2 separate regions of the Homo sapiens genome follow, and region 1 is linked to region 2. Evidence: promoter capture Hi-C in 16 types of primary human blood cells and fetal thymus (Javierre and others, 2016). All regions are on one chromosome and are shown on one strand. Each heading gives the region's core, a stretch centred on a gene start or on the middle of the fragment in contact. The rest is flanking DNA. Distances are from core to core; before and after follow the strand shown.

Region 1 (3,953 bases), core at 357-2,856, 1.1 Mb after region 2:
GGATCCCAAGAAAAATGCATTTAGGGCCACTTTTTCAGCAGCTTCGCTTTAAGGTTCATTTTTTTTTTTTTTAAGACTCATAAAAATCTTTACAGTTTGGAACACATAAAATATATTGACTGGACGCGGTGCCTCACACCTGTAATCCCAGCACTTTGGGAGCCCGAGGTGGGTGGATCACTTGAGGTCAGGAGTTCGAAACCAGCCTGGCCAACATGATGAAATGCCGTCTCTACTAAAAAGTCCAAAAATTAGCTGGGCATGGTGGCTCAGGCCTGTAGTCCAAGCTACTCGGGAGGCTGAGGCATGAGAATTGCTTGAGCCCAGAAGGTGGAGGTTGCAGAGAGTCAAGATTGCACCATTGCACTCTAGCCTGGATGACAGAGCCAGACTCTGTCTTTAAAAAAAAAATACATAAAAAGTTTTAAAAATGGAAACCTGTGTGAGCAGTGTCTAGAAACAGATAATTAGCAGTTATTCTGTAATCAATTTTTTAAAAACTTTAAAGAGAATGATTAATTTTAAACCCTAAAGGAGAGTTGCAAGTAGAAATATAATTTAAAACTTTTGTGTAATATCACTGCAATGGATGTGAGATTTTACACACACACACACACACACACACACACACACCCCATAAACACACATGTGTGCCACAGGTCCGTTGGTAAAAGCTTGGTTACTGATGATTGAGTTTTTTTCTTTTATTCTTGGGGAAGTTACATAACCTGTTTTTTTCCAGCCTTATTTTTCCATTCTGTGTAATTGGGATACTAATTATATTCATGTTGCTGTCAGGAGGGTAAAATACAATGTATATAATATTATTTTCACTCCAGATCTGGTGTTTAGTAAAACACTCAGCAACTATTAGGTGTAATTGTTATTTATAGGAAACTGTAGGTCTTTTGACAGTAATCATAACCACCCTTGCATGTGTGGGTTGTCCATAGAAAATTAAGATAATAGCGCAGAGGTTTCTGTCTCATCATGCTCTTCCCAGCTTCACTGAGATTGTCCTTTTTTCCAGTCAGGGCTTATCTTTCTAGGTTCCAGGAAAGCATCCTGAGGGATCATGCTGCTGTTTTAATACTCATATCTTCTTTAGGTGTGAAATACCCAAACGGGCCAGGAGCAGTGGCCCACACCTGTCATCCCAGCACTTTGGGAGGCTGAGGTTGGAGGATCACGAGGTTAGGAGTTTGAGACCAGCCTGGCCAACATGGGTGAAACCCCATCTCTACTAAAAATACAAAAATTAGCCAGGCATGGTGGCACGTGCCGGTAATCCCAGCTACTCAGGAGGCTGAGGCAGGAGAATCGCTTGAACCTGGGAGGCAGAGGTTGTAGTGAGCCGAGACTGCGCCACTGCCCTCCAGCCTGGGCGACGGAGCAAGACTCCATCTCAGAAAAAAAAAAAAAAAAAAAGAAAAGAAAAGAAAAGGAAAAAAGAAAGAAAAGAAATACCCAAATGGTCACCATGATCTAAGCACTCCCTTGGAGAACTGATGGATGTCAGTGTGCACTGATGGACATAAAACAGGACCACAGAGAAGAGTCACACTTGTAGAAAGAAATGCCCCCCAATCTCTAGCCAAAAGCTCCAAGTGGGAGTCTGTGTCACTTCCAGTGACAACTCTGCACTGACTCACTGCGTGACCTTGGGCAAGAAGCACTTCTACCTGCCTTGGTTTGTGGACCTGAAACAGGGATGTTAGCACCAACCTGGCATCTTCCCAGGACAGTGGCGCAGATCTGGAGGAACACCTCACGGGAAGGTCTTTTGTAGATCACACAGGAGGCTACACAGACATGAGTTACTGTGATTTCCTTTTGTCTAAAGGTTTCTTTCTGGTTCTAGCCTTGTCTATCTGGGGGAAGGAGACTATCTGTGATGGAGATGAGCGTTCTTTTCCAAGAGCGTTAATTAGCTGTTCACTTTGTGACTTCGTGAGCGCCCTACCATTTGAATTCTGAATCCCTGCGTTTTGTTCTCATTTGGTGATGAGCCTTTCAGCAGACATGGTAGTGACTATTAAGTAGGCATTTTAATGCAATCGTTCATAGAATCAATATGTAGACGGCTAGTTTCTAATTTATGAGAAGGCATTCTCTGGGAAATTGAATAAACAGTGCTCGATTGGAATATGGAAATTTTATATAAGAAAAATAATCCGAGAGAGGCTGAGAATGTACAAGCTCTAAGGAATCATCAGATGTGAACAGGACTTCAGCTATCATGTTTAGGGTGAGCTTCGTTAGTGGCTCACATCTAGTTTCAGCTGCAACTGTATTTTCATATCGTTCCCAGGCAAGCCCCGCGAGTGACTGACTCCACGACCCTGTTTCTTCCCAAACCCTCACCTGAGAAACAGGCTTCTTGGATTAAATCTTCCTTTTCCTATTCGACTAGCCCGGTGGGTTTGTGCTTGGCGTAACTTTGGGCCCCCTGGGTGGGATGTGCTTGCGTGAAGCTCCAGTAGCTTTTCCTCTGTGCCGGGAATAATTTGCAAAGCGTCCTATTTTGGATTTTCATAATCAAGCTTCTACCCCGTTTCTTTTCAGTTAATTTAATACCTGGAGCACACGCAGTACTTCAAAAATATTGGTCCGTTCTGGTGTCAGAGAGTCTTTTTGGACTGAGATGTAAAAGTCCTACATTTGGGTATGTGAGCTGGGAGTTGGGGGGCCAGGCTGAGGAGAAGCAACAAATTCCAGAGACAAACTTGGCATCTTGGGAGATGTAATACACGCACCCAGCCACAGAGTCCCAGGAGAATGTATTTTAATGGAGAATGTGGAGGGACTTTGCAAATGTTTTCATTTTCTCAAATCATATCTGTTATCCTGAAAGTGGTGTCTGTTCCCCCTAACGCCCCCCCGCTCCCTCCCCAACCCTTTGCAGACACTGGCATCTGTGGACATGAGTTAGGTGCTGCAGTACCACTCACTGTGTCAACTACAGTATTAACTACGGAAAACACACACACAGTCACAGTCACACTGACACTCACACCCTAACCATCCCAAATCAGACATTTGCAGTCCCACGGGATTTCCAAAGATTCCCCGGACAAGCAATCTATAGATTATCCTGGGACCAGAAAAAAAAAAGTCCTAGGATTTTTAGTTTCCTTAACCCTCAAGTGGCTGGAAACTGTTAATCAGAGAGGAATGAACATAAATAACACCAAGCCGAGCTCCGTCTGATCCGAAGTGAGCCCCCAAACAGCTTCTGTCTGCCCTGATTACCAAAGGAAGCCATGCCCACGCATAAATTGGCAGTCTATTTAAACTGGGTGTTCTTCCTCACAGTTTTTTTTTTTTCCCAGAGAAATATTCAAAGGCAGGCATTTTTCTGGCTAAGAAGATATTTATTTAAGTCACAGATTGCTTCACCTTCCCAAACTTGCCCGGCACACTTGGTGTAGGGCAAAGCCTCATCCTTGTCACATCTGTCCCTCTCCCCTCTGGAGCAGGGGCCAGAGGACTTTGGAGGACACCTACTCCCCCCACCCCCAAGGCTTCGGCTTCCCAGGGGGGGCTTGGCAGTGTGAGAAAGGCAAACCGCCTTCCGACCTGGTTGAAATTTTGTTTCCCATTGCTCCCTAGAGGTGTCCCTTGGCCGTGGATAACGCTCACTCTGTTCCTAGCCTCGCGCTCACCGTGTTTGTCCATGGAGGTTATAGGGAACTTGAGTGCGGGGTCCCCACCGCCGGAGCAGAGGGCTAGGGACCCGATAGCGCCTGGTGTGCCATAGCGCATTGGACCCACCCGAGAGCCCGCGTTCTGCTGCACCGGTGGCGGCCACAGGCGGGAGCGCCTATGCGCCTTGGACCCAAGGCGCCCAGGGGGTGGGTGGGACGGACCTGGAGGGGGTACAGGGGGGGCCTGCGCCCACCTCTCTGCACGCGCATCTGCCGCTTCCCGTGCCCCATAGGGGAGCCCCGGGC
Region 2 (4,214 bases), core at 1,402-3,901:
CTACCTAGGCGTCCTACCACCCGGAATAAGATCCTCATGGGGGCACCAGGAAACACTTCCCATACCCCAGCTACAAAGTCCAACCATCAGTCACAGGGCCCACTCCATCCCTAGAAGTCCTGAGTCACTCACCTCCCCAATCCCTAGGGGTCCCAGGTCACTCCCCTCCCCCACCCCTAGGGGGTCCCGGGTTACTCTCCCCTCCCCCATTCCTAGGGGTCTTGGATTACTCTCCCCTCCCTTATCCCTAGGAGGTCCTGGATCACACTCCCCTCCCCCATCACTAGGGCATCCTGGGTCACTCTCCCCTCCCCCATCCCTAGGGGCTCTGGGTCACTCTCCCCTCCCCCATCCCTAGGGGTTCTGGGTCACTCTCCCCTCCCCCATCCCTAGGGGTTCTGGGTCACTCTCCCCTCCCCCATCCCTAGGGGGTTCCGGGTCACACTCCCCAACCCCATCCCTAGGGGTTCTGGGTTACTCTCCCCTCCCCCATCCCTAGGGTTCCCGGGTTACTCTCCCCTCCCCCAACCCTAGGGGTCCCAGGTTACTTTCCCCACCCACATCCCTAGGCGGTACTGGATCACTCTCCCCTCCCCCATCCCTAGGGGTCCCGGGTCACTCTGCCCTCCCCCATCCCTATGGGTCCCGGGTCACTCTGCCCTCCCCATTCCTAGGGGGTCCTGGCTCACTCTCCCCTCCCCCATCCCTAGGGGTCCTGGGTTATTCTCCCCTCCCCCATCCCTAGGGGTCCCGGGTCACTCTGCTTTCTCCATTCCTAGGGGGTCCTGGGTCACTCTCCCCTCCCCCATACCTAGGGATTCCGGATCACTCTCCCCTCCCCCATCCCTAGGCGGTCCTGGATCACTCTCCCCTCCCCATTCCTAGGGGGTCCTGGGACACTCCTCCCTCCCCATCCCTAGGGGGTCCTGGGACACTCCTCCCTCCCCATCCCTAAGGGGGTCCCAGGTCACTCTCCCCAACCCCATGCCTAGGGCGTCCTGGGTTACTCTCCCCACCCCCATCCCTAGGGGGTCCTGGGTTACTCTCCCCTTCCCCATCCCTAGGTGGTCCTGGGTCACTCTCCCCTCCCCATTCCTTGGGGGTCCCGGGTCACCCTTCCCTCCCCCATCCCTAGGGGGTCCTGGGTCACTCTCCCCAACCCCATGCCTAGGGGTTCCAGGTCACTCTCCCCTCCCTCATCCTTTTGGGTCCCGGGTTACTCTCCCTACCCCCATCCCTAGGGGGATCCCGGCTTACTCTCCCCTCCCCCATCCCTAGGGGGTCCCAGGTTACTCTCCCATCCCCATTCCTAGGGGGTTCTGGGTCACTCCCTGCAACCCCATGCCTAGGGGTTTCGGGTCACTCTCCCCACCCCCATCCCTAGGGGGGTCCCGGGTCACTTGACCTCCCCATTCCTAGGGGTCCCGGGTTACTCTCCTCTCCCCCATCCCTAGGGGTCCCGGGTTACTCTCCCCACCCCCATCCCTAGGGGGGTCTCGGCTTACTCTCCCTATCCCCAACCCTGGAGGTCCCGGGTTACTCTCCCCATCCCCATGCCTGGGGGTCCCGGGTTACTCTCCCCATCCCCATCCATGGGGCTCCGGGGTCACTCTGCTGTCCCCATCCCTAGCGGTCCTGGGTCACTCCTCCCTCCCCATCCCTAGGGGGTCCCGGGTCACTCTCCCCAACCACATGCCTAGGGCGTCCTGGGTTACTCTCCCCACCCCCATCGCTAGGGGGTCCCAGGTTACAGGTTACTCTCTCCAACCCCATCCCTAAGGTGTCCCGGGTTTCTCTCCCCTCCCCCACCCCTAGGGGGGTCCCGGGTTACTCTCCCCTCCCCCATCCCTAGGGGGTCCTGGGTCACTCTCCCCAACCCCATCCCTAGGGGTCCCGGGTTATTCTCCCCAACCCCATTCCTGGGGGTCTCGGCTTACTCTCCCCATCCCCATGCCTGGGGGTCCCGGGTTACTCTCCTCTCCCCCATCCCTAGGGGTCCCGGGTTACTCCCCCACCCCCATCCCTAGGGGGGGTCTCGGCTTACTCTCCCCATCCCCAACCCTGGAGGTCCCGGGTTACTCTCCCCATCCCCATGCCTGGGGGTCCCGGGTTACTCTCCTCATCCCCATCCATGGGGCTCCGGGGTCACTCTGCTGTCCCCATCCCTAGCGGTCCTGGGTCACTCTACCCTCCCCATTCCTAGGGGTCCCGGGTTACGATCCCCTCCCCCATCCCTATGGGGACCCAGGTCACTCCCCACCCCCATGCCTAGGGGGTTCCGGGTTACTCTCCCCTCCCCCATCCCTAGAGGTTCCGGGTCACTCTCCCCAACCCTATCCCTGGAGGTCCCGGGACACTCTCCCCTCCCCCATCCCTAAGGGTCTCGGGTCACTCTCCCATCCCTATCCCTAGAGTTCCTGAGTCGCTGGGCCCTCCGGGGTTCAGCCCCTCCGTCCCCGGTCCCCTGCCCCGCCCAGGCCCAGGCCGTACCGCGTTGCTGAGGATCTCCTGACGGCGTGGGGAGGCGCTGGCCAGCACCACGCGCTTGTGCAGCAGCTTCCCAATCACCGGGCACAGCACCATGGCGTCCACGCCGGGAGCCGGGCGTCCGCACTTCTGAGCCCGGAGCCCGCGGTGCGCGCAGCGCGGCTGCAAAAAAAACAGGCGGCCAGAGTCCCGCCTCCGCGAGGCCACGCCCCCGCCCGCCTCCGCGAGGCCACGCCCAGTCCGCGCCTTCAGTGGCCTCCCCGCGAGACCGCGCCCAGGCCACGCCTCCATTGAACACTCCGTCAGGCCTCGCCCAGGCCACACCTCCATTGCCCTCTCCACCAGGCCACGCCCATGTCACGCCCCATTGATCTCCCCTGAGACCACGCCCAGACCACGCCTCCATTGCCCTCTCCGTCAGGCCACGCCCAGGCCACACCTCCATTGCCCTCTCCGCCAGGCCACGCCCATGTCACGCCGCCATTGACCGCTCCGCCAGGCCACGCCCAGGCCACACCTCCTTGCCCTCTCCGCCAGGCCACGCCCATGCCACGCCGCCATTGAGCTCCCCGTGAGGCCACGCCCAGGCCACACCCCCGCCCGCCTCCCCCCCGGGCACCGCCCCGGCCGCTTGGTGAAGCACCGCCCCCAGCTCCGCCTCCCGGGCCCCGTCCCCGCCCCCGGCGCTCGCCCCGCCCCTCCCCACCCCGCCTGCGGCGCCAAGACCTGCAATGGCGCAGGCAGCTGCGGGGTCCCGGGGAGGAAAGGCTGGCGTGGATACTTGGGGTTCCTTGCAGGCGCGGCGTGGGGAGTGGAAATGCTGGGTTTCCGCAGCTGCGGTTGTGGGCAGTTGTGGGGGTGGGGGGTTCTTACCCGCACGTGGAGGGGCCCGGCGCAGAGATGGGGGTCTTGTGGGAGCCGCGTCGGGGAAGGTAGAGATAGGGGGTTCCCCGCGGACCCGGTGCGAGTGGCGTGGGGATGGGGATGTCCTCGTGCCTGGTGGGAGGGGAGTGGAGATGGGGGTGTCCACGGGCCTGGTGGGAGGGGCGTGGAGATGGGGGTGTCCACGGGCCTGGTGGGAGGGGCGTGGAGATGGGGGTGTCCACGGGCCTGGTGGGAGGGGCGTGGAGATGGGGGTGTCCACGGGCCTGGTGGGAGGGGCGTGGAGATGGGGGTGTCCACGGGCCTGGTGGGAGGGGCGTGGAGATGGGGGTGTCCACGGGCCTGGTGGGAGGGGCGTGGAGATGGGGATCCCCGCGGGGATGGTGGGAGGGGTTTGGAGATGAGGGTCCCCGCGAGAATGCTCGGAGGGGTATGGATATGGGGGTCCCCGCGGGCCGGGTGGGAAGGGCGGGGAGATGGGTGGGGGGGGGGTCCCCGCGTGCCTGGTGGGAGGGGCGTGGAGAAGGTGGGGGTCCTTGTGGGAGGGGCGTGGACACTGGGGATCCGCGCGGGCGTGGTGATGGGCGCGGCGTGGGGACCCCCTGGGGGCGCGGTGCTGGGGGCGCAGGGATGGGACCAGGGCGGGCGCTGTGAGGTGGGGGACGCCCGGCTGTGCCTTCCCTCCCTAAACGGAGCCCACCTCCAGGGCAGCGGGTCCCTTGCGCGCCGCAGGCTGCAGGGGGCGCGCGTGAGCTGTGCGAGGATTTTTCTTAAACCCCAGAGCCCAGCCGCACCTGCTCCACATAAACCCAGCGTGGCGTGGAGACTCCGGGCACTGTTTCCCC

What was found. Contacts are between HindIII fragments. The CHiCAGO score rates a contact against its expected background, and 5 or more counts as called.
Region 1: a contact is called between a fragment that was not itself captured here and the fragment with the promoter of ASMTL in region 2, in 2 of 17 cell types (total CD4 T cells and naive CD8 T cells). The highest score is 6.0, in total CD4 T cells.

The regions. Positions count from the first base shown.
Region 1 is chrX:2,579,787-2,583,739 of GRCh38, forward strand. All of the region lies in intron 1 of LINC03112 (long intergenic non-protein coding RNA 3112), which reads right to left. Among named protein-coding and RNA genes, the nearest start is that of LINC03112, 27 kb to the right of the region's middle. RefSeq lists enhancers at 3,289-3,789, 3,790-3,953. The HindIII fragment of the contact is 1,869 bases long and covers 673-2,541 here.
Region 2 is chrX:1,450,258-1,454,471 of GRCh38, forward strand. ASMTL (acetylserotonin O-methyltransferase like) reads right to left here and starts at 2,652. Exons shown (of 13, transcript NM_004192.4): 1 at 2,491-2,652. The coding sequence starts at 2,583. The HindIII fragment of the contact is 27,509 bases long and covers 1-4,214 here.